Linked DNA regions of Homo sapiens: regions 1, 2, 4, 5, 6 and 7 are each linked to region 3. Evidence: promoter capture Hi-C in 16 types of primary human blood cells and fetal thymus (Javierre and others, 2016). All regions are on one chromosome and are shown on one strand. Each heading gives the region's core, a stretch centred on a gene start or on the middle of the fragment in contact. The rest is flanking DNA. Distances are from core to core; before and after follow the strand shown.

Region 1 (3,367 bases), core at 314-2,813, 2.5 Mb after region 3:
TGTAAGTAGGTGTTCACAAATCTTTGTTTAAAAAACAATTAGAAAACTTAAGATCCAGAGCTTTAAAGACACTGTAATTTATTTAAAGCTGTAAAGCTAAATAAGCTAGAGTCAAAACTAGATCTGACCTCTTCTGTCAAGCAGTTCATCCTTTTTTTCACTATACCATTTTGATGTTAAACTCATTTATACAATACTAGAAATGAGAAACTGAAAGAAAGGTGACTCAGAAAACACTTGACACAAACTTTCACAATTAATATTATCATTCTCTTCCTCTCCATGGCTTCATTCCCCTTTATCATCTGTTATCCTGAAATTTCTACCATACCTCAGAGTTCTAGTCACTGTTCTCAGAATAAACCCCCTTCTCTTTTCCATCTTCACCTTTCCTTCAATATTCATCTTCCAAGTCTTACTTCTTCCTTTCAATTCAATCATTTAAATGGCAAATAAGGATAACCAAAAACTGGCCATCACCGATCAGTGACACAACCATTGTCTTGTTTACCATTTCCAAGTCAATTTAACCTTTATGGCCTTTCCTAGATCTAAAAAGTATGATTAATTAGCACTGTCATATGAACTGCATTTCAATCTTCTTTATTTTGCCAATGTTCTGATTATTTTAATAATGTCATTATCTGTCTTCCTAGACAGTTGGCTTCTGCAGGGAGGAATTGTTTTCCATTCCATTCACATTGTCTTAGTACCTAGAATACAGTGTCCTTTGGAATAATAGCTACTAAAATACTGACGGAGTGCCTACTCAGTACCAAGCACTGTGCAAGCCTTTCATAGGATTCTGTTCTTGATGCAAAACGGGAGTTAAGAGCACAGGGTCTGGAGCCAGGCTGCCTGCTTTCAAATCCTGGCTCTATCATCTGCCAGCAGTGACTGCAGGAAAATCTCTTAATGTCTTTCTGCCGGTTTTCACCTATAAAAGAAGCGCAGCAACATCACTGAGCTGACAAGGTATTTTAATTCTGCAAAGCACTAGACAGAGGACTCAGCACTTAGAAAATACTCTATAAAATACTGCTTCTTCTGATTCCTCACGATGACCCCTGAAAGGTATGAGCCCTTCTTTCTCATCACAGAGATTAAGAGCTTGCCTGGGTCACAGGGGAACTGACTGACCCCCGCTGTGGGCGCCCAGAGCCCCGCTGGGCCCAGTAAATGCCTGCGGTAAGCGGCCCCGCCCCCGGACAGGCTCTGCCAAAGGAAGCCGCCCGCAGACCTGGCCCCGAGCCTGCCGTCCACGCCGGGCCCCAGCTTCCTAATCCTGGATGAGTCTGGTTCTGGGCTAGCGGGTCAGCCACCCTCCCGCTAAGACAGAAGCAAAAGGGCACAGCCACTGCCTGGCTCCCGCCTCCCACGGCCTCCCGCGAAGTCACCGCCCCGCGACCCCCAGCATTCCAGAGGCACACGCCCGCCTCTCCCCTACGCCCCAACCCTGATGCTCCACAGGGGTCAGCAGCGCCCCTGCCCCGCCTCCCGTCACCGCATCCTACCTGCGGCTGGTGTGGGACGCTGGCAGCCTCCGAAAAGCGCGGGGACTGACGTGCGCCTGCGCGCTGCTGTCGCCCTCGGACTCGCGCCGTACGTGCGTGCGTGAGTGCGTGAGTGCGTGCGTGCGTGCGTTCGGCGCGCGGGGCGTGGGCGCGGCACCTGGGCCCGGGCACCGCCACCTAGGCCCTAGCTCCGACCAGTGGTGTTCTATAAACGCTTATTACATCATTGTGCATAGGCTTCATTTTTAAAAGTACTCCCAAATAAATACAAGGAGGCGATGGAAATTGAATGAAGATTCGAAGGATTCCCATAGAGCGTGGCTCACTTCCCCTCACCGGGACAGCGAGCGGCGGCTCACCTGGGAGAGCAAAGCGTGGCTCTCCTGCGCCCACCCGGGAGAGCAAACAATGGCTCACCTGCGCCCACCCGGGAGAGCAAGCGTGGCTCACCTGCGCCCACTCGGGAAAGCCAGCCGCCATCCTGTGCTGCAGGCAGGGAGCGGGCGGCGGGAGAGGAGCGGATCCACTTAGGTCAGCGGTTAAAACGTCGTTACAAGAGGCCACCCCGGCATCGCGGGGCCTGTGGCTGCGCCCCCTCTTGAATTCAGGCCTAGCACATCACCTCCGCCCCTCGCACCCTGCAGTCTGCGCTCCATACAGCACGTGAGCGGGTGCTCAGCAATGTTCCCTGGCTGAAAGAACCGCATAGAGTAGCATGCAAAAATGACATGCATGTTTAAGATAAAATAAGGGAGAGGACACCTGTTCTGACTGAGTCTGGCAACTCAGATCTCCCCGCAGCCAACATCTACATTCCTTTGGACAGCTGTCTGCTGTGTAGGGACACCTCCCTGGAACTTTGAAAAGCACCCCATCATTACCTTCCACTTTGTTCTGGAGCAAGGTTTCAAAAGAAGAGTGCCGTATTTTGATTAATTTAGTGAATTGGATTTTCAGACACAAGTAAGAGCATCCACTCAGTGGCCTCTGCAGTAAATAATGATATCAGATCACATAACAAGAAGACTGGAGGTTGGCGGGAAATCTGGACCTGGTGACTCAAAGAAGTCATGAAGGACCATCTCTCCATTCTGCCACCTTCTCGCCTGTGGATTTTCCTCCCCAGGCTTGTCACTTCATTGTCGAGAGATGCCCTCACAATCCAAGCCAGGCAGCCTCACATGACCAGATCTAAAACACAAAGAGGGAGCCAAACTGAGAAAGGACCTTTTCCCTCTGAACACTTCTCTCTTGGAAAAAGAAAATGTTTCCCAGAAAGCCTCATAGCCTTCCTCTTATATCTCCTTGACTAACTGGGACCCGGATCCCTGGATATCCTTTCCTGAGAAAGAGAGGGTCTGGGGCAGGGGATAGAGAAAATGACTAGCAACTAGCAGCACATGATGTTTAAACATAAGATTTAAAGAAATGCAAGGCACAAACAATTTGAAGACTTTTTTTAAGTTTTTAAAATCTTCACAAAATAAAAAGGAATTGGACAATGCACTTTAAAAACTAGAAGACGTTTCACTGAAAACAGCATCTCCTAATTCATTTCATGGCTTAGATAGTAATAGAAAATTATTTTATTCTAATTCCATACTTTATCAACTAATTTTAATTATTTTATAATTACCCAAAATATGTCATGTAGAATGAAAATAAAAGAAAATGAAAACAGTTATATCAAGGCCAAGTCAGTTGTATGTTTACTGGCTATTTAGAAATTTCTAAATACGTGTATATTTAGAAATGACTATATAGATACTATTTGGGTAATGTTAGGGATGGAAAGTTTATGTCCCCCCAAAATTTGTATGTTGAAATCCTAAGCCCAATGTGATGGTTTTAAG
Region 2 (3,809 bases), core at 374-2,873, 2.2 Mb after region 3:
AGTCAGCTTTCATCCCTTGAGGTTGTTTCCAATGTTAGAGGATATTGTGGGGATATTTTACTACCAGTTTATTGGTATTAGTCTCCAATAACAATAACCACAACTGGGCAAATCTCTTTTTTCATTTCACTGATTAATATTAGAGACAAAGTTTAAATGCCCGAGAGAAGAACCATCTGTGAAAATGAATTGGGAGGGCTGTGATGCAAACTCCCTTATCGAGGTTGCACTGTGTGCTTGGCATCGATTTCATTATCTCCCATTTCCTACTTATAATGTAATGGTCAGCCTTTTCCTGTTACCCAAGGGTAGCAATTTCCACTTTAGAGAACATATTTCTTACATATCCTTTGGTAATCATGGACAACTTAATGATTTCCCCTTGCTCTCTACACAAGAGCCTCCTGCTGTCTTTCAAGTAAAAAGCCAGGCTCTCCTTTGCAGGCAGGAAGCCTGTGGCCAAAGCCCTGCTCAGCAATCTGGGATTGCACATCTCACATGGCAACGGAAACTGAAGTGGTCTTTAAATGCCAAAGAGGAACCACTTCTCAGGTTGAAATCAGGCTACCAGGCCTTTGGGAAAATGCAGGCCAGTAACCAATTTCTGAGGGACAGATCACCACAAGAGAGAAACGTGCTCCCCAAACAAATATAAACCTCATTTTATTTAGAAGTAAGGCTTCTTCATCCTCTCCAGCTAGCAGCCGTGCTGAGGTGGGGGAAAGGTACTGACTTACCTGCTCTCCCTGGCTGATGACATAAAGGTGAGCACCTGCCAGGTGCAGTGGCTAGCGCCTGTAATCCCAGCACTTTGAGAGGCCGAGGCAGGTGGATCACCTGAGGTCAGGAGTTCGAGAGCAGCCTGACCAACATGGAGAAACCCCATCTCTACTAAAAATACCAAATTAGCAGGGCGTGGTGGTGCATGCCTGTAATTCCAGCTATTCAGGAGGTTGAGACAGGATAATCGCTTGAACCCAGGAGGTAGAGGTTGAGGTGAGCTGAGATCGTGCCATTGCACTCCAGCCTGGGCAACAAGAGCGAAACTTCGTCTCAAAAAAAAAAAAAATGAGCACCTTTCCACAGTGCCAGTAGAAGATGAGAGTCTAAGCCAGATATGCCCATAACTCCAAAGCTCAGGAAGATCCCAGGGGTTGGGAGCTGCAGTCCAGAGGAAGGGTGACTCCTGGTGGAAACAGGGGCTGCAACCACACCACAGGGCTACTTGGCCCCAGAGCAGACTGCATGCCTTAGAAAAGGCCCTGGGAACAGCTGTATCTTGTCCTTCCAGGATCCTCCAGATAGAGAAGCCAGACGTTGGGTGGAGGAGGGACTCAGATGGGGCTTGAAGGGAAGGGCCTTGTGAGGGCTGTAGGTGGCACACACTGGCAGAGGCACTGAACATACGTGACCTCCATCCTCACAAGAACCTGGCAACCAAGTGGCAACCCCATGCTCAGAAACAAAACTGAGGCTCAGAGAAGTTGAAGAATTTGTCTAAGGTCATGAAGCTGATAATGGAGGAAAATGGGATTCCAACTCAGGAGAGTTAAGCTCCAAGCCCTTGATTTTACCACTTGGGCCTTGTTACTCAAGGTCCAGGAACAAGTGGCACCTGTGCCACCTGGAAACTTGGTAGAAATCAGATCCTCGTGCCCCACTTCAGATGTACAGAATCAGAATGTGCATTTTCTCAAGAGTCCCAGGTTTAAGCATGTGTTCTGCCTTCCTGGGGAGGGTCCTTGAGCACTTTGGGGTCACAATTCAGCACCAAGTGGTGGTACATTCCCAGGTCAGGAAGAGGCTGTGTGTCTCTGGAGTAGAAACCCTAAGAGGCATAATAAGCAATAGTGCTTAGGAATAAGTGCTCAATTGTGATAATCAAACAGATAAGGAAAATAATGAGAAGGTGAGATTTCATGAAAGACAAAAAGACTAGTAGATGTTACACCTCTGGTTGTTTCTGAGTTTGTGAGCTCTTCGTCCATCTCTCCATCCACTCATTCATCAGAATGACTAAGGATCTAAAATGTTGGAAGGACACAGGCTGTCTCATTTTGCCTGTTTGGCCCACAGAGAGAAGTTAAAAGAGTTTGTTCTTACACCTAAGATGAGCTTCTAAGTTCAGTTACCAGAATTTTCAAGCAATGCAGAAAGTGGCATTCTGTGGTGGTCTTTAGAAAAGCAGTATCTCCTAAATCAAAGCAAGAGAGAATAAGACCACACATAAATCAAATGAAGAAAGAGTAGTGCCATCAATGATAGAGACAGACCTGAGGAGAGGGTGGTGGTAGAAAGAATCTGAATTAGAAAAGGGAGGAGAAGAAAGCCATGAGTGATGCTTGTCAAATTTGGGACTGGGCCCACACTGGCATTAAAGAGACCTGAATAGTACCTAGAAGTGTTCTGGGAGTTTTCACCATCCTGTGCTCCAATCATATCCTAATAGTTACTGATTTGGAAGTGGTACCCTGGGTCACATATGTCAATATCAATAGAAAGAAATGATTCTTATGGTAAATTCACAAAAGGATTATTTTTGGATTATAATTTGGCATCATGTGAGTTTGACTACCATGGGCTTGTTTCTGAGAATGTGATCACTTCAAGATGCCCTTACAAAATTGATCCTCTCTATTCTGAAAAATTGTAAGCCCTTGACCTGGCTTACTCACCTAACTACCGAGTGGCCCAATCAGCAGGTCTCCTTTCCTGGCATGGCACTGTAACCTCCTCACCCTGGATCTCTCCCACTACTTTCTTACAATTCAGTTAAGGGATCACCCATACCCACATGCTCACTGCCTCTCCCACAGTTAGTTCCTGAATCTGTTTTGACTGAGGTTGCAATTACTTAAACTTTTGCAACCATCCCCTTCTCTCTATTCAACAGGCAGAACCTAATATCATCACTCTTATTACGTGGCTAACCAGGGAGCTCCTGTTCTGTGCCTCAATTACCAACTCTCCCTGTCCTGTGCATGCCCTAGTCTATGGAAAGGACTTTAAGTGCCCTTTTCTGTCTCCATTTAGTCCTCCAAATGCCTTGCTTTCAATATTGAAGTCCAGCTTCTGAACACCCTACCAGGTGGCAAGGCTCCAAGAACCATTTTTTTAAGTGGTTCCATACTGCTTGGCATCATTTAGCCAATATGCTCAGGGTCTACACTCCATCTACCACTGGGATCCCATCACCACCTGCCTACCCCACTTCCACTCCCACAGCTGACAACTTTCCCTGAACAAGATTGAGATTGTTGTGCTCTTGGACACTTGTGCCCAGCCTCCCCTGCCCTGACAGCATCCTTGCCCTGTGGGTTCCTCCAGCCTCCATTTTCTTACCCCAGTGGGGAGACTAAGCACCACCTATGACTATCTCTTTACTTCATTACGTGGCTGGAGATGGAGTTTCTTCTGTAAATGGCATCTGACCTATCTCAAGATAGAGGAGCCCAAAGGAGTGATCCGAGTGAGTGAAGTGAATTAGTGACAACTTCATGCAAAAAAGTTTGAGACACGTCATGGAGATGAATTAGGGAAGAGGTAGAGGAGGACCTCCAAATAGAGGAAATGAGGTAACACTTGCAGGGACTGGGCAACCACCAGCTCAACAAGGGAGGGGACAGAGGTCAGCCTGTGGCAAGGAGCTCCCAGCCCCTCCCTCTCTGGGAAGAAGCAGTGGAAGCACCTTTCCTCCAGTTCTGCTCTGGACTCCCAGCAACAAACCGTCATGATCTGGGAACTTTGCACAGCCAAGGATGAAATGTCAGCCCTCAAACCTATGTCAGAGCTGCTGTGAAAATTGGAAA
Region 3 (3,714 bases), core at 375-2,874:
CTGTGCACTAAATTCATCTGGCAGTAGCATATAAAACATACGTGTACTGAAGAACGAGGGGCCATTTAAAGGTTATTATAGCAGATGAGGCAGGGTGGGAGTGGGGAGAAAACATGTCAAAGGTGAAAATGGATAGAGAAACCATGATTTCTAGACAAGGTGACAATACCACTACAAGAAACAGAGAGGCTGGAAGTTTCACGGCTTGGAAAAAGCAGCATTCTAGCTGAATGCATATGATAACAACACAATTTTAAAATGAGGAGGAACTGACTCTAATGCAAAATATAGTTATGGACCAGATCTTTAAATTTAAATAAACCAAACAGCTTTCAACAGTATTTATTGTTAAAAAGGCTAGGCTAACTATGTCTATTCCTTCGAGGCCAAGACTTCTGTGTTAGAAACCCTGACTCTCCTACTCACCAGCTCCACGGAGACCGTGAGGCAGGGAAAGTGTTTATTAGTCAGTTTGATTTTCAAAGCCCTGGCATTCTGGGCAGTCTTCAAGGCTCGAGATAAGTTTTCCGATGTTAGCTCTAAATAAATCTCATTGTTTTCTGCAGAGACACCCTCCATTTGAAATTCGTTGAAGAAGTTCTCCTAAGGGAAAAAAAATGAGGGATGAGGGAGGGTATATGTGATCTTTCCAGTGACAATCTGCAGAGTGTGCAGGCCTCTCAGAAGCTTTTGCTCACCTGTTCCAGCTCACACCACATGCTCACTCCTCCATTAGCCAGCTTGTCACAAAGGATGAAGTTAAGCTTATCAGGGCTGATGCGGAGGGTGCAGGTTTTGGCAAGCTTGGCTATCATGTTACTGATTCCTAAAGCAGGGGTTAAAATAAGGAATTACTAAAATGCACATTATGTATCCTAGAGACCAACTTATTTTGCAGAATTTCTTGTTCATCAACTTCTCGGTGGAAAAATAACCACTTAACGTTGGTATCACACTGGAAAGTACTTTAATACCCCTGATGTCACGCAATTCTCCCAACAAACTAGGGGAGATGTACAGCACACATCATCAGTGTTCAAATAAGAAAACAGGCACCTACCAGTCATTCATTCATTCAACATGGATTTATTGACTACTAGGTACTGCAATACACAGTTAAATGCAAGGTTAGGCACTGTCAGGGTGGAGGGACGAATGGGGCCTTGAAGGTATGTCAATGCCTGATAAAGCCGTCTATGGGAGCAGTGGCCGCTTTTTTTTAAAGCCACGTGATCGGAATCAAGTTTCAGAAACGTCCCTTGAAAGCCGCCTTCATCCCCACAAGTGCCCTCCGACCCGCCCCGCGCCCTCCCGGCCCCACCCTCCCGCGGCCTACACCAGCACCCCCATCCCGGCCCCATCCTCCCGCGGCCCCTTCCGGCGCCCATCCCCGTTCTGATCCTCCTGCGCGGTCCCCACCGCGCGCTCACTGCTTCCTTCCGTTCCTCCCTCGCTCCTCTCCGGCCTCCCTGCTCACGTGTGAAGTGGTTCAGACAGGCCCCGTCCACGATCTTGGCCCGAAACTTCATGGCCGCGGATGGCGCAGCCGCGGCGGGCCTCTGTGGGTAACAGAAAAGCGTCGCGCCCTGAGTGTCCCCGCCCGGAAACACGGCAGCGCGAACAGTGGTTCCGCCCGGCTCGGGCTACGCGACTCTTACCAGGGTTATCTCCGGGCCACGCCCCGGAGGAGGTGGGGCTAGGGGGTCACGCCCTAGAGGAGGTGGGGTCACGGGTCAAGGATCACAGGTCACGCCCCGGGGGAGGTGGGGGTCCCAGTCTCCGGGTATGCCTCCGCGCTGCCGGGTAATGGTGGGATCTACTTTTAGTGAGGCGGAGGCTTCAAGCCCCAGATTCGGGGAGGTTGTTCTGAGAATTCACGTTTTGAAAGAATTTTGTGACACCTATTTCAAGTGTTATTTTAAAATATCCAAATAAAATTAATCGTTTATAAAGGTTAAACAATATTATCTTAAATATACCTAAGGTAGAGCAGCTTTAAACCCTCCAGCCTCAGATGACGGTACTGGTACTTTGGTATTGAAGCATCTTGGTGGATTAAGGTTCTGAAAATTGTTTCAAATGACTTCTAAAAAAATTGAACATATTACTGGCTAGTTGGTAAAGTCGGGAAGCTTAAAGAACACTGACGTTAAGTGATAATTCTGCAGTTTGCCTCAAGACGAACTTTATTACATCCGATAAAATTCTTATTAGCATAAATAATGTCATTAGGATTTTTTTTAAAGGAAAAATTTTAAAGGGGGAAATGAAGCAACAATTGTATCTAATTTGGTTTTTCAAAGACTAAAGATTATCTGTGTTAACAATTGTTATTTTTAATGTCCTTTGCAAATAGACTAGAACCTTGTCTTTAACTTGACACATAGAATCAAGATAATGATAATGCAGATGATGATGATGATGATTTTGAGACGGAGTCTGGCTCTGTCGCCCTGGCTGGAGTGCAATGGCGTGATCTTGGCCCACTGCAACCTCCACCTCCCGGGTTCGAGGGATTCTCCTGCCTCAGCTTCCCAAGTAGTTGGGATTACAGGCACAAGCTACCATGCCCGGCTAATTTTTGTATTATTAGTAGAGACGGGGTTTCGCCATGTTGGCCAGGCTGGTCTCGAACTCCTGACCTCAGGTGATCTGCCCACCTCGGCCTCCCAAAGTGCTGGGATTATAGGCGTGAGCCACCGCGCCAGGCCCAGATAATTTTCAAAGACACATGCACACATATGTTTATTGTGGCACTATTCACAATAGCAAAGACTTGGAACCATCCCAAATGTCCATCAATAATAGACTGGATAAGGAAAATGTGGCACATATACACCATGGAATACTATGCAGCCATAAAAAAGGATGAGTTCATGTCCTTTGCAGGGACATGGATGAAGCTGGAAACCATCATTCTCAGCAAAATATCACAAGGACAGAAAACCAAACACCGCATGTTCTCACTCATAAGTGGGAGTTGAACAATGAGAACACATGGACACAGGGAGGGGAATATCACACACTGGGGCCTGTTGGGGGGTGGAGGCCTGGGGGAGGGATAGCGTTAGGAGAAATACCTAATGTAAATGATGAGTTGATGGGTGCAGCACACCAACATGGCACATGCATACCTATGTAACAAATCTGCACGTTGTGCACATGTACCCTAGAACTTAAAGTGTAATAATAATAAAAAGGTGCAAAATACAAAAATTGCAGTTTTTGCCTATTTTAAGACTATAACATGAAGCAAAATTCTAATCTTCATTGTCATATGCGAGTGTTTGCCAAACCAAACTTAATAGATCACTTTCAAAGTTATGCCAACAGGCAGGGCAGGATGGCTCTCTCCTGTAATCCCAGCATTCTGGGAGGCCGAGGCGGGTGGATCATCTGAGGTCAGGAGTCTGAGATCAGCCTGGCCAACATGATGAAACCCCGTCTCTACTAAAAATACAAAAATTAGCCCGGCGTGATAGCTTGTGCCTGTAATCCCAACTACTCAGGAATCTGAGGCAGGAGAATCACTTGAACCCAGGAGGCGGAGATTTCAGTGAACAGAGGTCTGCCACTGCACTCCAGCCTGGGCGACAGAGCGAGACTCCGTCTCAAAAAAAAAAAAAAATGTTGGCATAACTCTTTTTTTTTTTGGAGACGGAATCTCGCTCTGTCGCCCAGGCTGGAGTGCAGTGGCGCAATCTCGGCTCACTG
Region 4 (3,524 bases), core at 429-2,928, 2.7 Mb after region 3:
CTTGGGGGTGAGGACGCCAACCACAACAACCGCAACAACACAACTCTCACACCAACTGGTCAGAAAAACCCCCGCTCAATGCTTTCCCATGGCAGTGAAATCACACACAGGCAGCTGAGAGGCTGAAACACGTGCGTTCTCTGAATCCAGACCCATCTGCCAACCTCCAAATAATCTTTGTCCCGCAACTGATGTGTCAGTGGCAGCTTTGGAGCTGGATCTGCAGGGTGGGTGAGAATGTTAGTTTGTCCTGACAAACTCCCTCCGAGGCTCCCCGCTCTCTCTGGCCCCTTTTCTTGTGTTTGGAAGGGGGTGCTTACTTGCTCTGAACTTTGATTTCTGTGGCCGGCGTGGAGTCTGACAGCAGAGGGAAGGGCTGGGAGGCCCCCACCTTAATCAGGAACTGGGACCACACCATTCTACAGGGACCCTCTTGACCCTCCTACAGCTAGCTACCCTCAGCTGTCACCCGGTGGGCAGGAAGGAGTCAATGTCACTCAAGCCTGAGTGCCCAGGTGGGGGTGGTGGGGGTGGTAGAGGCGGGGCTCAGCGAGAGCGGAAGAGCCCTTCTCTGTGAGGGCAGGTTAGCCTCCCAGCAGACGGGGGACCAGCCAGGGGAGCCTGCACTCTCAGGTAGGGTCACTGCCCCCTGCCTGCCACCTACGGGCCACTTCTCCAACTCAAAGAAATCCCAGGGCTGGGGCTGGATCAGGACCCAGAGACTTGTTTTCAACTCTTATTTATTTTTCAAGAAATCCACCATCTCTTTTCCAGAATTTATGTGTCACTCAATGAAAGTATACTTCCCCCTAACAAGCAAAATATTCAAATACAGCTGACATGGCTGAATAAGTCTACAGAAATACAATTTAAGTGAAGAAAACATGTCTCTGGGTCCTAGGTAGGAATGTTATTAAAATGCATTAACATAAAAGAAAAACAGGAATTTGGAAAATATAACTGAGCTCCAACAATGCTTTATAAATATGCTAACCATCATAGGGAATGTCTTCAGGACCAGTGCATGCCTTCTGCTACCCAAATCAGGGTTCCTAATGCTCTTCTTCCCTGAGTCTCTCAATGAGCTTATCTGCACTGAGGATACATGATCTTCTCTAGGAAAGTGAAATTATGTTGAAGTGTGTGTCTCATCTCTCTCCAAGTCTCTTTGCCACTTTTCTTGTTCAAATCAGCCATGCCAATGGTTTTCTCATTTTTTTTTTCAGCCCTGCTGCATTTTTCTTTAAACTCTCTCCCCAACCCCTGTTGTTCCACAGCCATCCCCCCAAAGGTCTATAAATAGCCCGGGTATTAAAAGCTGAGATGTGCTTGGTCACACGTCCACATCCACTCCTTTTAGATTCCCACAGAGGCTGGGCTGGCGAGACCCTGAGGGGGCAAGGCAGACAGGAGACTGAGTCAGACACAAAGGCAGGCACCTTCCAGCTCCAGCGACAGGCCCCTCTGCCCCTGACACAGCACTCTCTGGTACTTCCAATCTCACCAGGGCCCTCCAACCACACACAAAGCTAAGACCCAGAGACAGAACACCAAGAAAGCCCTGTGTATACCAGCCATCTCAAACCACCCAGTCAACGCGTAGAGCTACTGATGAGAATGTTTGTAAGGAACACAAGAGGTACGAGGGCTCCTATTACAGGGTACTGCCAGCCACTGACCACGGAGTCTTTTAGAGCTGGCAGTTCTAGGAGGAGCATTCTGTACAGCACCAACTGCCCCTTTAGTAACCACCTGAGCACTGCTGGGGGCTCAGGTCTCCTGCGGAGCAGGCCTGGGTTTCCCTGGCCCATCCAGTGTTCAAGCATCTCACACGAGGTGGGCCTAGAAGGTTCTCTCGAGCAGGTCAAGGCCCTTGTCCCGCAGCAACTCACAGTTCAGAGCGGAGATTGTTACCACAGGCAGTTAATTTCCAAGGTATGACTTGTTTAGGGAATATAAGAATCTGGTAACACCAGGAAAGGTGAGAAGCTGAGACCCACAAGTTCTATCTGAGTTCTATCCCGGCTTAGCCTCCTACTGGCTTTGTGACCTCGGATAGGTAATTAGCAATCTAAGACTTGCTTTCCTCATCCAAGCTGTGGGGAACTGCTCTGAGAATCAGTAATGTAAGCAAAACACTGCTTAATCAATGTATGGAAGTTCTACATTAGTTATGACCTATCTTGGCCTGGGGTGGTGGTTCCAAAGAGGAACTTAGAAACAGACTTGGCCATAACCATGCTTCATCAGTAACTAGCTGTGGGAACATGGCTGAGCTATCCAGCCTCTCTGTGCCTCAGTTTCCTCATCTGTAAAATGGAAATCTGTAAGCAGCACCAGCCTCATAGTGTTGCTATGACATGGATTAATGAGATACCCTCTTGAAAAGATCCTGGCCCCTGACACGTGCCCTCCCTGGGACGTGCTTGGATCCACCGTGGATCTGGGAACAAGGCAGGCTCCAGCTGAAGGCCTGTGGACAACCACCGAAGGGTGCAGGGGCAGGACCCTGAAAGCTGCTTCCAACTCAGGATTTCAGTTCTGAGAAAGCAAACCTCATGACCAGTTAAGATGCAGCAGGAACAATTCAGTCAGAAAAGCCACCCCTCAAATCCTCAATTTCTTTCTCTCTACTGCAAAAAAGCCCCTAAATAGCAAATTGTTTTTAAAAATAAAACGGCAATATTAAAGAGGGCATAATTATGTCAACAGCATGAAACTCTGTCTTTTTAGAGTTAGTTGGGGGAGGAATGGTTTGCAAAGCTACCCAGGCCTCTGGCTGGCTTGGCACTGAATCCCGTTATAAAAGCCCTGAAGTGCTAATAGAAGGTTCCACTGTTCCCAGACTTTCTGTTGTCACTTTTTACATATTCACTGCATAGACAAAAAAGCAAGAGCTTAATTTTTTTTGCAAACTTAAAGGAAGAAGTTTAAGAACAATTGGAGTTGAAGGTAGATCATTATATCTCCACGGCCCCAAACTCCACTCTGGGGCACCTGGTTTTTTGTCTCAGTGGCCCCCACGGGGTTGTTGTGTGTGTGGGAGTCATTCAGGCCCCTCCTTGCTGTCAATCTTAGCACAGACCCTCACTCTTGCTTCCTGCCACAGTCTTAGACCTTGCTCTTGGATAACTTACAGGCTCAGGGAATCTCATGACTGCATCCAAAAGACCTCCTGACTGGCTGTGAGTCTTTGCTCAAGGCTCAGCAGTAATCGCCTTGTAAAAATAGCAAATGGGGCACTCTCTTTGTCCTCTTCGAGCCCTCTGCAGCATAAGATGTCCCTGGACAGACGGCCCAGCCTCCAGGGTGCACACACTGACCCACAGTACCCGAGATCCACACCTACCCTGAGACCTTCACACAGAAACCGAGACATCTGAGGGCTTCTGGGCCAGCAGCTCTTGCGACCAGTTTCATCCCAGTGCTTAATTATGATCTAGCATACTTTTTAGTTCAAAAGCTCTTTTAGGATGTAATGTAAAATGGAGTTTTTAGTAACTCTGGTAAATACTCGTGGTAAA
Region 5 (3,716 bases), core at 1,148-3,647, 2.5 Mb after region 3:
ACTCAAACTCATGGGACAGCTGGACATGCTTCAAAGAGGAAAGGGAAAATCTGTTTTTCTCATGGCCATTTAATTCAGAACTTAACTACCTAGAAAACCTTATTAGACTGCCCATGTATAATTCATTTAGACGCTCTTGGCAATTTTCCTCAAGTGCTTTTACCGTTCACTGACCAGCTGTTTCCAGGCAGGCTAAGAAACTCATTCCCTACATTAGCACAGGTCTAGTGTCCTCAGAACACCAATTGTCATTTTCTTCTGTTCATGGGACTATTCTTATCCCACCCAAACTGTCTTTTATAATGTTAGAATAAACACCGTGAGGAGGTATTTGATCATTCTGGAAGAGACAATGGCTAATGCCCATCGAGTTGCTCCTCTGTGCTTGAGGTGCCAGCGCTCACCACTGCGGCATCCTCAGGACAGCCCACAACACAGAAGATATCATGATTATCCCCATTTTGGAGATAAGAAAACAGGCTGGGAGAGGGTGAGCGACATGCCCAAGGTGCACCCGGAGGCCTTGGCTGAGCTAGGATTCTAAGGCAGCCTGATGGAGCTGCAGCTCTGTGGCTGCCACAGCTGTTGCTCCTCCTCCGCGTTTGCCACCTAGAGCTGGGCATCCTGTCCGCTCTGTCACATTCAGAAACGGCCTTCCTCTCATTGAATATCACACTGACCTTATTTCACTTCCAAATAGTTATAGAACTCAGAAGCTATTCAGACAGCATGTGATCCTAGGAGAAGGAGCCCTCCGTGGCGTAGGCCCGTGCCTTGCTCATTCTAAGCCCGCGGATACAGCAGGGCCCCCATGTTGCAGGTGCTGGGGAGGACCTGCGGAAACGCGGCGCCTCGCGGGCAGGGGGTGGCTGGGACAAAAACACGTGTCATACGAGTGGTTCCTCGTCATGCCACCAGAGAGCGCCAAAGACCTCGGCCTCATGGGCGATCCCGAAAGCCGGTTCCCGCCCAAGGAGACAGGCTTTGAGCATCGCTGGACTCTGCTCCTAAGGCAGGATTGGGTCCCCTTTAAGAAAGAAGTGGAGTGTGTTTTAAACAGGAGCCAGCATGATCATAACTAGTTGTCCTTGAGCTTAAAGACGTCATCATTGTGGGGAGATAAATCCCTTATTTTTTGGCTTTCTTTCCCCAAAAAAGCTGAATTCGTCTCAAATGGGTAGAGGGGGATTTCCTACCCAGGAATTCATATACATACTCCTTTCCCAGTTCTCGCCCCCAAACAGGTCCTCATAGTGCTCGGCAGCTCCTGGAACTGTCCTCACCGAAGCTTTGGGAGTAGGCAGTTCATGGCACATCCTAGGCATTCTATGAAGCTTGCAGATGGATGTGTTTATATATGCTGTGCCACAGAGGAGGTGGCTGGGGACACCTGCCCCTGCACACCTGGTTGTGAAGTGGCAACAGGACTTAAAATGGAGGGCTGTTACCATCACTAAGGCTGAATATCATAAGTGTGCTTGTTCCCATGAAGCCTGGGGACCTCTGTCCATCAAGATGAGGCCACAGCTTAGGAAGGACACCAGGATCAGAGAGAGCCAGCAGAACAGCAGCAGGCCTTCTGCAGCTGGCTAAACGGGTGGCTCTAGGCAGATCCAGGCTCATATTCAGGACTCAGTTTCCTCATTTTTTTTTTTTTTTTTTTTTTTGGTGAGACGGAGTCTTGCTTTGTCACTCAGGCTTTAGTGCAGTGGCACAATCTCTGCTCATTGCAACCTCTGCCTCCCAGGTTCAAGTGATTCTTCTGCCTCAGCCTCCCGAGTAGCTGGGATTACAGGTGCCTGCCACCATGCCTGGCTAATTTTTTGTATTTTTTTTTTAGTAGAGACAAGGTTTCACTATGTTGGCCAGGCTGGTCTAGAACTCCTGACTTCATGATCTGCCCACCTCGGCCTCCCAAAGTGCCGGGATTACATGCGTGAGCCACCACACCCAGCCAATTGTTATTTTAAAAAAAAAAAAAAAAAAAAAAGCAGGGGAGTGGGGCTTGGAGCTGATAAGTGGTTCTCAAATTTTAGTGCATAGAGAAGGTGTCTGGTTTGCTTGTTAAAACAGAGGTTGCTGGGCCCCACTGCAGGCCGGCACTGCTGGTCTGGAAGCATGTCTGAGAACCACTGGACTAGGGAATATCTATCTTATTCTGGCAATTTTGGGGGAGAAAAACACAGTCCTTATGTTCTCATAATTGCCATTGCTCAATGAACTTCATTCTTGGCTAGATGTGGCTAAAGCACAACCTATGTGATGTTTCTACTGTGACCATCTTCCTGGACCTGATAACCTGCAATCTTAACGAAAGTGACTTAACAGATCTTATAAATAACCTCATCTCAACAACCCAAACTACAGTCTGGTTCTCTTGCCATGTATTTGCTTATTAAGACATTTGAAGGCCAGGTGCAGTGGCTCACACCTGTAATCCCAGCACTTTGAGAGGCTGAGGTGGGTGGATCACCTGAAGCCAGGAGTTCAAGATCAGCCTGACCAACATGGTGAAACCCAATCTCTACTTAAAATACAAAAATTAGCTGGGCATGATGGCGCATGCCTGTAATCCTAGCTACTCAGGAGGCTAAGGCAGGAGATTCGCTTGAACCCAGGAGGCAGAGGTTGCAGTGAGCTGAGATTGTGCCATTGCACTCCAGCCTGGGGGACAAGAGTGAAACTCTGTCTCAAAAAAAAAAAAAGAAAAAAAATTTGAATTTATTTCTAAAGTCCCGAAAGACCTCCGCAATTTTACCGTGATAAATAATAAAAACAAAGTCACCTTGCGGATATAAGCCTGCAGTCCTTTGACTCCATACATCCTAAATACAAACCACATTTTCAAAGAGCGAAATCTTCTGCCCAGTGGTATCTGCCAATGCTGAAATGAAACATGAAACAGACCATCAGTGAGGAAGATATTAAAAGCTGGCTTCCTTTTCGGCTCACCGGCTCGCCTATTTCTCTTGGAGGCAGCCGATTCCCTGGTGGCCAACCTGCTCCCATTGCCATGGCCTGTCTTGGATGGCAGGGCCCTCGGTGATGTGGGCAGAGGCTTTCTTTGCAAATCTCCAAGAGAAAGGAACACAGATGGGGACTGTTGACCTGGGAGCCAGTGATGTTCATTGTTTTCACTCAACAGGTGTTTGCGGCATGCACAGCAGGGCCAGACCTTGGGCTGTCCCCTAGGGTTCCGTGGTGAGCAAACAGGGAAGACACGGCCCTGCCCCCAGTGAGCTCACCATCCAGTGGGGATAAGGGGGTAATTTTCATTGATGTCCTTGCCTACGAGGAAGGAGGGAGCCAGAACCTGCTCTTGTCTGCCACTTCTGCCCCAGATGTTCTGGCACTGTTTTCTAGAGCAATACTGGTTCCCTCTTGGTCCTACTGATCACCATGGAGTGACCCCAAGACCCCTCATCAGAAGACACAATGTGTGTCTCCATGCTGGTGCTCCAGAAGCTTTCCCTGTCCTTCCTCTGGTTTTCCCAGACCCAGTCAGTTGACCGGCCCCCACACACTGAGGGATGGAGATGTGGTGAAGTGAGTAAGGAAGGACTGGGACGAGGAGACTGCTGGGAAGTGAGCATAGCAGCACTGTGTGGTCATCTTAACAGTCATATTCTATTTCAGCTATAAAGGAGACACTGAGGAGAGCTGAGCCAGCTCCCTACTGGGCCTGGGTGACACAGTGCAGCCAGGCGCGACACTCT
Region 6 (3,679 bases), core at 61-2,560, 2.3 Mb after region 3:
CTTCACCGCAACCCTGTGGGATAGACCAAAATCATGCTTTTCAGCCTCCTTTTTCCACTTGAGGAAAGGAGTCTTAAAAAAGGGACCAGTCTCATGTTCCCATTCGTCTTACAACTAATTGGTCAAGCCAGAAAGCCAGAACTATGTCCTGGGTCACTAACTCCTAGTCACTGTGTGTTAGTATTTGAGATGCCTGTTGGCTTGATTTAGTCATTTATTTTTTAGTGTTTTATAATCCTTGCATACTTTTACATTTTAAATGGTTAACCAGGCAAATTGGTTTAAAATCAGTGCATAAAAATACTGTGCCTATCATGATGGGTTTCATGAAGTGATAACTTTTCATCATGGAGATCCTCAGCTGTCACAGAAGATGAGGGGCCCTGGGTACAGAGGCTCACGTGAGGGATGAAAGTCTCAGCAGCCCGGACTTACACTTTGGGGCTTTTAGGCAAATCAGACAACCTCTTAAGAACTATCACTGAGTTCAGGCAAGGCGAGCTTGAATTAACACAGGGCCCTTGGTGGGCATGTGAATATATCTCACTTCACTACCATCCAGTTCTGACTCTTTACTAGATGCCCCTGTACATACCAAGACTGATTTTTTATTCTCCCTTCTCCCCATGTGGTTTCTTCTGCATAGAGAGTTCCTATTGATCAGTCTGACCCATGGTATTTTAGAATTGCGATCCCTACTGTTTCATTATTCCTTTTTCTCCCCCATGTTGAAAAAAATAAATGTCCTGAGATGCAAGATCAGGGACACTGGAGCACTGACATTTAGTTCAGTGCAGGAACTGAAGGCAGATGTAATTCTTAAGAAGCGTACCTGTTATTATGAACCATCCTCAACAAATTGTAGTGGATCTTGTTTTCTCATAGATACAGCAGTTAAATTTTTTAATAAAAGTAACTAAGAGTTATTTGGATGTATTTTAGCATGCACTGAGCGGAAAGTACGACATTTCTTCATTGGGTAAGTCCTGATTCTTTATGATCCTCACTTGGTTCCAGGGCCCCATGCATCTAAGGGTGTCTCAGAGCATCCTGCAGTGCTCCAGCATGATCGCAGGGAAAAGCTATAGGAGGAAAAGAGTCAATAAAGTTTAGTTTCTCAACCTCCCACCTCCACCCCATAATAATGACAGCTGGTTAATCATGAGACGCGTGCACACCCCACACGCCCTGTACATGTTTACTCATTGGGATAGCATGTCAGGCCAGAAGGCTCCATGGTCATTTCTATGAAGGTACTTTAGCAGGTCTTCAAGAAGGCAAGTGGCCTGGGTCCCTGCCTCCCCAAATTGCAAGCTCCCTGCTTTATGTAGGAGACCTATGTGTATATTACAGTTCTGTGTAAGATTATTTTGTTATTCTTACCCCCACACCCACCCCCCAACCCCCCGCTGCCACCAAAAAAAAAAAAAAAAAATTCCTCTGACAACCTTCATAAAGTCCTGGGAGTTTGAACACCATTGCTCTAGGAAGTCATCTTATACAAAAATAAGAGTTGTGAGGTGGTTCATATACCTCCTGCGTTCTCCTATTTGGAGTTTTTCCCCATTTATGAAAGAGGTGAAAACGCTAAGATATTTAGCAATTATTACTTTAAACATTTTCTATTTATAGGCCGGGCGCAGTGGCTCATGCCTGTAATCCCAGCGCTTGGGAGGCCAAGGCAGGCAGATCACGAGGTCAGGAGATCGAGACCATCTTGGCTAACACGGTGAAACCCTGTCTCTACTAAAAAAATACAAAAATTTAGTTGGGCATGGTGGGGGATACCTGTGGTCCCAGCTACTCGGGAGGCTGAGACAGGAGAATGGCTTGAACCTGGGAGGCCGAGCTTGCAGTGAGCCAAGATCGCGCCACTGCACTCCAGCCTGGGTGACAGAGCAAGACTCTGTCTCGAAAAAAAAAAAAAATTCTATTTACAGCAGTGAAAATAGTAGTGACTTAATGCACATTGCCAAGGCTTTAGCATAACATGAACACTTTCACTCAATGTCTCTCTGGCCTTTTGTTTTTCCTTGGGAAATTCTTATAATCCTGCTCCGTCTTTAACTATTCATTTTGTATTGGCTATCCAAATATACCCAATAATGCTCTTTCTGAAAATATGCCAATTGTGGTAATTACAGCTAAGCTGGAATATTAAATTGTGATGTCTGTTTTCCAGAGAATGAAGTAGTATTCCCCAGAGCATAGGCTTGGTGCCTGTGCAGGTTCTATTTTAAATATTCCAGGAAGGGTTGTTTTATATACTGAGGATGATTTTACTGGTCTTGCCAGTCGTCTGAAATGCTGGTATTACTCTTGTGGAAGGTTTATTCAAACAAACAAGGACATTTCACACAATACCTAGTCATGTTTTTCAGACATTTTAATGTTTGGTTCATCATTTGCACACACTCTCAAAAATCTAGGTTTGTCTATGTGTTCATATCATTTTGCCTGTTGCCAGCTCAGTCAGCAGGCACACTCTCCCAGGCTGTTGCTGTTTTGTTAGACTTCTTCAGGACCTTCATCTAAAATGGTCTTCCACACGTAGCTATACTGCATAAGTTCACATCATCTGTTTCTTGCATGTGGGTTGTGTCTCAACTCAAGTTTAAGTTAGATTTGGAAGGGCGGAAACTATAGGAGTTGCAGCTTCAGTGGAGAAAAGAGCATTTCCTACTAGTTATGGCTTCCCAAGGAAGGTTAGATTCCTCAGAGTAGGAGTGATTCCCCAATGCTAGAACCTTTGGTCAAATATAATTCTAATCCAGTCAAAATAAATACAGGTATTCTGTAAAACCCGATTTCATTTTGTAAATCCTACTTTGTATAGTATAAGCAATTTTTGTATTTGTGTGGATTATATTTTATTTTCCTATTTCAAAGAGAAGAATTTGTATTAGCAGACTCCCTTTGCATGCGGAGAGGGGATCATTTTCCCAGTAGGCATGGGGTTCCCTTCCATTCCTTGTCCAGTCTTCTTTTCCCCACTAAGTTAAGTCAAACTAAGCAGCTGGTAAGATATTCCCTGGTTCTTGCAAAGAAAGTGAGCAGATGGCAGAATGTATAGCTCTAAGCAGAATACCTGGTGTGGTATCCTCAAACACAAATTGACAGGAGGGTGTGGTGTGGCAAGCTCATTGTGGGGGTAAATTGGAATAAGCTTACAGGGGGAAGAGTTGACAAAAGATAGGAAGAACCTTAAAAATATAGATGCCTTTTATGCAGTGATAAAATGTCTAGATATTTATACTGTGGTGATTATTAGGAATATGTGCAAAGATTGGCTATTAGGATGTTCATTACAGTGTTGTTTAATAATTATAAAAGGACAGAAAGCAATGTGGACTCAAAAATAGGAAAAGAATTTAAATAAATCCTAGTGTACCCGTTATACATGAAATTATGGAAATATGACCCTGAGCATGGAAATATGTACATGAGAATGTCTAAAAGCTAGTTCATTTTGAAAAACAAAATAATGTCACCTCATATTATTTATAGTATATAAAGATGATTTTAAGAGTGGCAGTGTCTGGGATTATAGGTGATTGTATTTCTTCCCTTTTGCACATCTATGTTCTCTCATTTGTATTGTGTGGGGAGAAGTGACTTTTTTTATAAAAAGAAAAAGGTATATGCATCCCAGCAGAGAAGCACTGGCTCCACCCAGTAC
Region 7 (3,567 bases), core at 219-2,718, 2.2 Mb after region 3:
TCAACTTGTTTTTGAGTGAACCAAATGCTTCTCACTGATGGAGGTATTTTATGTCTTCCTCCTCACCCCAGTGTATGCTGAACAAGCCTCCCAGTGATGAGCAATTCCATACAATTAGCAGAAATCCCTTAGCTTGAGGTTGTCCACCATTAACCTGGAAATAAAAACTTTAAAATTCTGCTCCTTGGATTTAGATCACCTTGGTACAATTCTCAGCTCTGCCATTTATTAGCTGTGTGACCGTGGGGAAACTTTTAACATTTGCTATGTCTTGGTTTCCTATTCTATAAAATGAAGAAGCTCCATACCCATTAGGATGGCTACTCATTCAAAAAAGTTAAAAGAAAAAACACACAAAAAAAAAGCATTGGCAAGGATGTGGAGAAATCATCATCCTGGTTGGGAATATAAAATTGTACAGCTGCTATGGAAAACTGTATAGCTGTTCCTCAAAAAAATTAAACATAGAATTACCATATGACCCAGCAAGTCTGCTTCTCGGTATCTGCCCAGAAGAATGGATCTGAAAGAGATATTTGTATGTCCATGTTTATAGCAGCATTATTCACAATAACATCCACCAAAAGGTGGATGTTTCCATCTATAAATGAATGGATAAACAAACTGTGGTAAATGCACAATACGGAATATTACTCAACCTTAAACAAGAAGGAATTTCTGACACATGCTATGACATGAATGTACCCTAAGGACATTATACCAACTGAAATAAGCCAGTCATTAATGAATAAGTGCTGTTTGATTGCTCTTATATAAGGTCTCTAGAGTAGTCTAATTTATAGAGAAAGTAGAATGGTGGTTACCAGGAGATAGGGGGAGATGGAAATGAGGACTAAATGTTTAATGAATTCAAAGTTTCTGTTTAGGAAGATGAAAAAGTTCTGGAAATCATAGAGAAAGTAGAATGGTGGTTACCGGGAGATAGCGGGAGGTGGGAATGAGGATTAAATGTTTAATAAATACAGAGTTTCCATTTAGGAAGATAAAAATGTTCTGGAAATGGCTGGTGGTGATGGTTGCATGACAGTGTCAATGTACTCAATGCCACAGAACTATATGCTTAAAAATTGTCTGAAATGGTACGTTTTATGCTATGTGTAGTTTACTACAATTAAACTTTTTTTAATGAAGAAGCACTTTATTTTCAAAAACAGTGTTGGAACATTACAATTTTTCTATACCAGAAATTCCATCATAATGCAATCGTGGATTCTAGGCAAAGCACATAACCATACTAGGCCATCACAGGACATGTCACCTCATTGGTGTGGCGCATTCTTAGAAGGCCTGGCCTTGGCTTTAGGGTAGCAAAGCTTCTCTGGCAGGTATTCAGCTGCAGCGATACAGTGCCTGCGTGGGCATTCCTGCCCCTGGACACGTGGACACATGGAGTTTTCTGGCTTCTTTGTGAATGATACTCAGGCCATGAGCCCCAGTCCCTCCACTAAGAATAAATCCATAACCTTATTTTGAGCACATAATCTGATAGATCATGATGCCAGTGATAAGTTTGCCTCACCATTTCCCTCTTCTATTTTCTTTTACTATGGTATTCTTCCCCCCTTTCTTTTTTCACTTTTCTAAGCTTTATTTGAATGTTTCTGTCTGCTGCAATGGTTTGTCCAAAGATCAACAAGAATAGACAGGGTGTGAGTCCCCAGTCACAACAGTTTTTGACTCCTGTGTTGACTCAATGAAGTCAATAGAAGTTCAAGCCCATCCTTTTTCTCTGACATCCTGGAAGCTCCTGTGTCTTCTCTTGATCCCTTTTGATGGCCTTTGCCCTGTGACCAGAAGAATGCAGAGCATGCTGCAGTTTGGGACCTCAGCTCTGCTGTCAGCACTATGACAAGCTCTTGTTATCTGGTCTCTGTGGTTTTTGATGGGCCAGTGAAATGGGGAGAGGGTGGCCTTTAGGGCCACATAGATGTGAGTGCAAATTCCAGTCCTGCCACTTAACGGTTTTGCATCTACTCTGTGAGGCTCAGTTTTCTTATCTGTAAAATGGAAAATTAATAAGAACCTTGCAGGGTTGTTGTGAGCATTGAACAAGATGATGCAATTAGAGTATGTCATGTAAAAGAGGCAATGAACTGTTCCAAAGCCTAGTGGCTCAGAAGAGCAAGGAGTTGCTGTCTCTCAGGACTGTGCGGATTGTTCCCTGAAGAGTGTGGCCTCAGCTCATCTGTGCAGCTTCTTTGAGCTGTGGGGTCAGCAGAGCTGGTGGTCACATGTCTGGCAGTTGGTGGCTGCCTCAGTTCTTCTCCATGTGACTCTCTTCCTCCAGAAAACCAGATAGGTATTCCTTCCTAGTGGTCTCAGGGCAGTTTCAAGAGGTCAAAAGCAAAATCTGCAAGAGCCCTCAAGGCGTAGCTTCTGGAATTTGCACAACTCTGTCTCCATCCATTTCATTATCCATTGATGTCAGTGCAAGTCACAGGCTGCTCCTGAGTCCAGACTCCAGGGATCAGGAAATGGACCCCACTTCTTGATGGGAGAGCCCCAAAGCCACATTGCATTCTTCTGCTCTTGTATGCTCACCTCTGACACTATCTACTGTCATACACCATCTTCAAGAGTAAAAATAGAAGAGATAGAGATTACTGACTGACACTTAGCATTCCTAAATTTTGAATCTGACCCTGGGTCAGCAACCTACCCCTGCAAGCTTCCCATGGGAAGCTAAGCCTCAAGAGAAAATCCCTGGGTGTCACTGTTGGCCTCAAAGCCACGTAGAATCACTTCAGTGACACCACTTGCCTGAACTGAAGGGAGCAGGAGTAAAACTACTTTACTTCTTTGTTTTCCTCAGCCTAGCCCTGTTATTATCCTTACTCCTTTGATGGTAGCAGGAAAAATGTTCAGCAAGGAGAAGCAAATACAAAACACAGGAACCAGAGCAAAAGCACAGAACAGTGTTCACCCTAATGCCTGTTTATTTTGTATCTCTCTGTCTAATGCTCACCAGAACTACATGGCCCAATCAATATCCCTGGACTAGACCAATACAAAAGCACTCCTCTTCCTTGAGGATAATGAGGGGAAGAAAAACTAAGGGAGGTAGGAGCTTCCCCCTGCTAGAAGTCACCTCCCAAGGCTGAGGCCAAGCATTTTTCCATTTACTCATTCAATAACAATTTATTAAGCAACTATTAATCTTTTACCCCAGGCACTGCTCTAGTACAGAGATCCTGTGTGTCAGTGAGGAGCCTGCACTTTTCTCGTACGATTCTCTCTCTGAGCTCAGCATGGCTGGCCATGCATTGTAGGCTGCTGTCCAAGAGGCTTGCCCAGGCCAGAGACCACCCCAGTGCTAACTGTGCCTTCTCCCCCAGGCTCCATCCCGCACACTGCCTCTTTCAGATCTCTTTCTCTCTCCCTTTGTAGCTCTGTTCCTTCTGGAAGGTGGGGAGGCTCTCTTCTCCCCTCTGTCTACCCAGTAAATTTCCATTTACCCATCAGTTCTCCATAAAAGATTACCTTCCGCAGTGAAGCCTGGCTGGCTCCTGGGCCGAGTAAAGCTCCTCTGTTCTATGGTCTTGTATG

Evidence for each region. Contacts are between HindIII fragments. The CHiCAGO score rates a contact against its expected background, and 5 or more counts as called.
Region 1: the fragment with the promoter of FIGNL1 here is called in contact with the fragment with the promoter of HUS1 in region 3 in 8 of 17 cell types (activated CD4 T cells, total B cells, total CD4 T cells and 5 more); the score reaches 18.2 in activated CD4 T cells.
Region 2: a fragment that was not itself captured here is called in contact with the fragment with the promoter of HUS1 in region 3 in 1 of 17 cell types (monocytes); the score reaches 5.1 in monocytes.
Region 4: a contact is called between a fragment that was not itself captured here and the fragment with the promoter of HUS1 in region 3, in 1 of 17 cell types (total CD4 T cells). The highest score is 7.4, in total CD4 T cells.
Region 5: a fragment that was not itself captured here is called in contact with the fragment with the promoter of HUS1 in region 3 in 1 of 17 cell types (total CD8 T cells); the score reaches 6.7 in total CD8 T cells.
Region 6: a fragment that was not itself captured here is called in contact with the fragment with the promoter of HUS1 in region 3 in 3 of 17 cell types (total CD8 T cells, total CD4 T cells and M2 macrophages); the score reaches 10.2 in total CD8 T cells.
Region 7: a contact is called between a fragment that was not itself captured here and the fragment with the promoter of HUS1 in region 3, in 1 of 17 cell types (activated CD4 T cells). The highest score is 6.4, in activated CD4 T cells.

What each region holds. Positions count from the first base shown.
Region 1 is chr7:50,448,787-50,452,153 of GRCh38, forward strand. It overlaps FIGNL1 (fidgetin like 1), which reads right to left and starts at 1,564. Exons shown (of 4, transcript NM_001287492.4): 1 at 1,515-1,564; 2 at 332-937. RefSeq lists silencers at 1,085-1,379, 1,521-1,710. The HindIII fragment of the contact is 8,767 bases long and covers 1-3,367 here.
Region 2 is chr7:50,217,629-50,221,437 of GRCh38, forward strand. No RefSeq gene overlaps it. Among named protein-coding and RNA genes, the nearest start is that of IKZF1, 85 kb to the right of the region's middle. The HindIII fragment of the contact is 5,453 bases long and covers 1-3,809 here.
Region 3 is chr7:47,977,991-47,981,704 of GRCh38, forward strand. It overlaps HUS1 (HUS1 checkpoint clamp component), which reads right to left and starts at 1,625. Exons shown (of 8, transcript NM_004507.4): 1 at 1,478-1,625; 2 at 699-826; 3 at 427-603. The coding sequence starts at 1,529. RefSeq lists silencers at 1,146-1,195, 1,276-1,335 and an enhancer at 1,406-1,695. The HindIII fragment of the contact is 1,329 bases long and covers 802-2,130 here.
Region 4 is chr7:50,628,048-50,631,571 of GRCh38, forward strand. All of the region lies in intron 7 of GRB10 (growth factor receptor bound protein 10), which reads right to left. Among named protein-coding and RNA genes, the nearest start is that of DDC, 64 kb to the left of the region's middle. The HindIII fragment of the contact is 4,252 bases long and covers 1-3,524 here.
Region 5 is chr7:50,467,288-50,471,003 of GRCh38, forward strand. It overlaps DDC (dopa decarboxylase), which reads right to left. Exons shown (of 15, transcript NM_001082971.2): 12 at 2,786-2,884; 13 at 1-28. Among named protein-coding and RNA genes, the nearest start is that of FIGNL1, 19 kb to the left of the region's middle. The HindIII fragment of the contact is 2,131 bases long and covers 1,333-3,463 here.
Region 6 is chr7:50,323,862-50,327,540 of GRCh38, forward strand. All of the region lies in intron 2 of IKZF1 (IKAROS family zinc finger 1), which reads left to right. Among named protein-coding and RNA genes, the nearest start is that of IKZF1, 21 kb to the left of the region's middle. The HindIII fragment of the contact is 3,707 bases long and covers 1-3,164 here.
Region 7 is chr7:50,200,400-50,203,966 of GRCh38, forward strand. No RefSeq gene overlaps it. Among named protein-coding and RNA genes, the nearest start is that of IKZF1, 100 kb to the right of the region's middle. The HindIII fragment of the contact is 272 bases long and covers 1,333-1,604 here.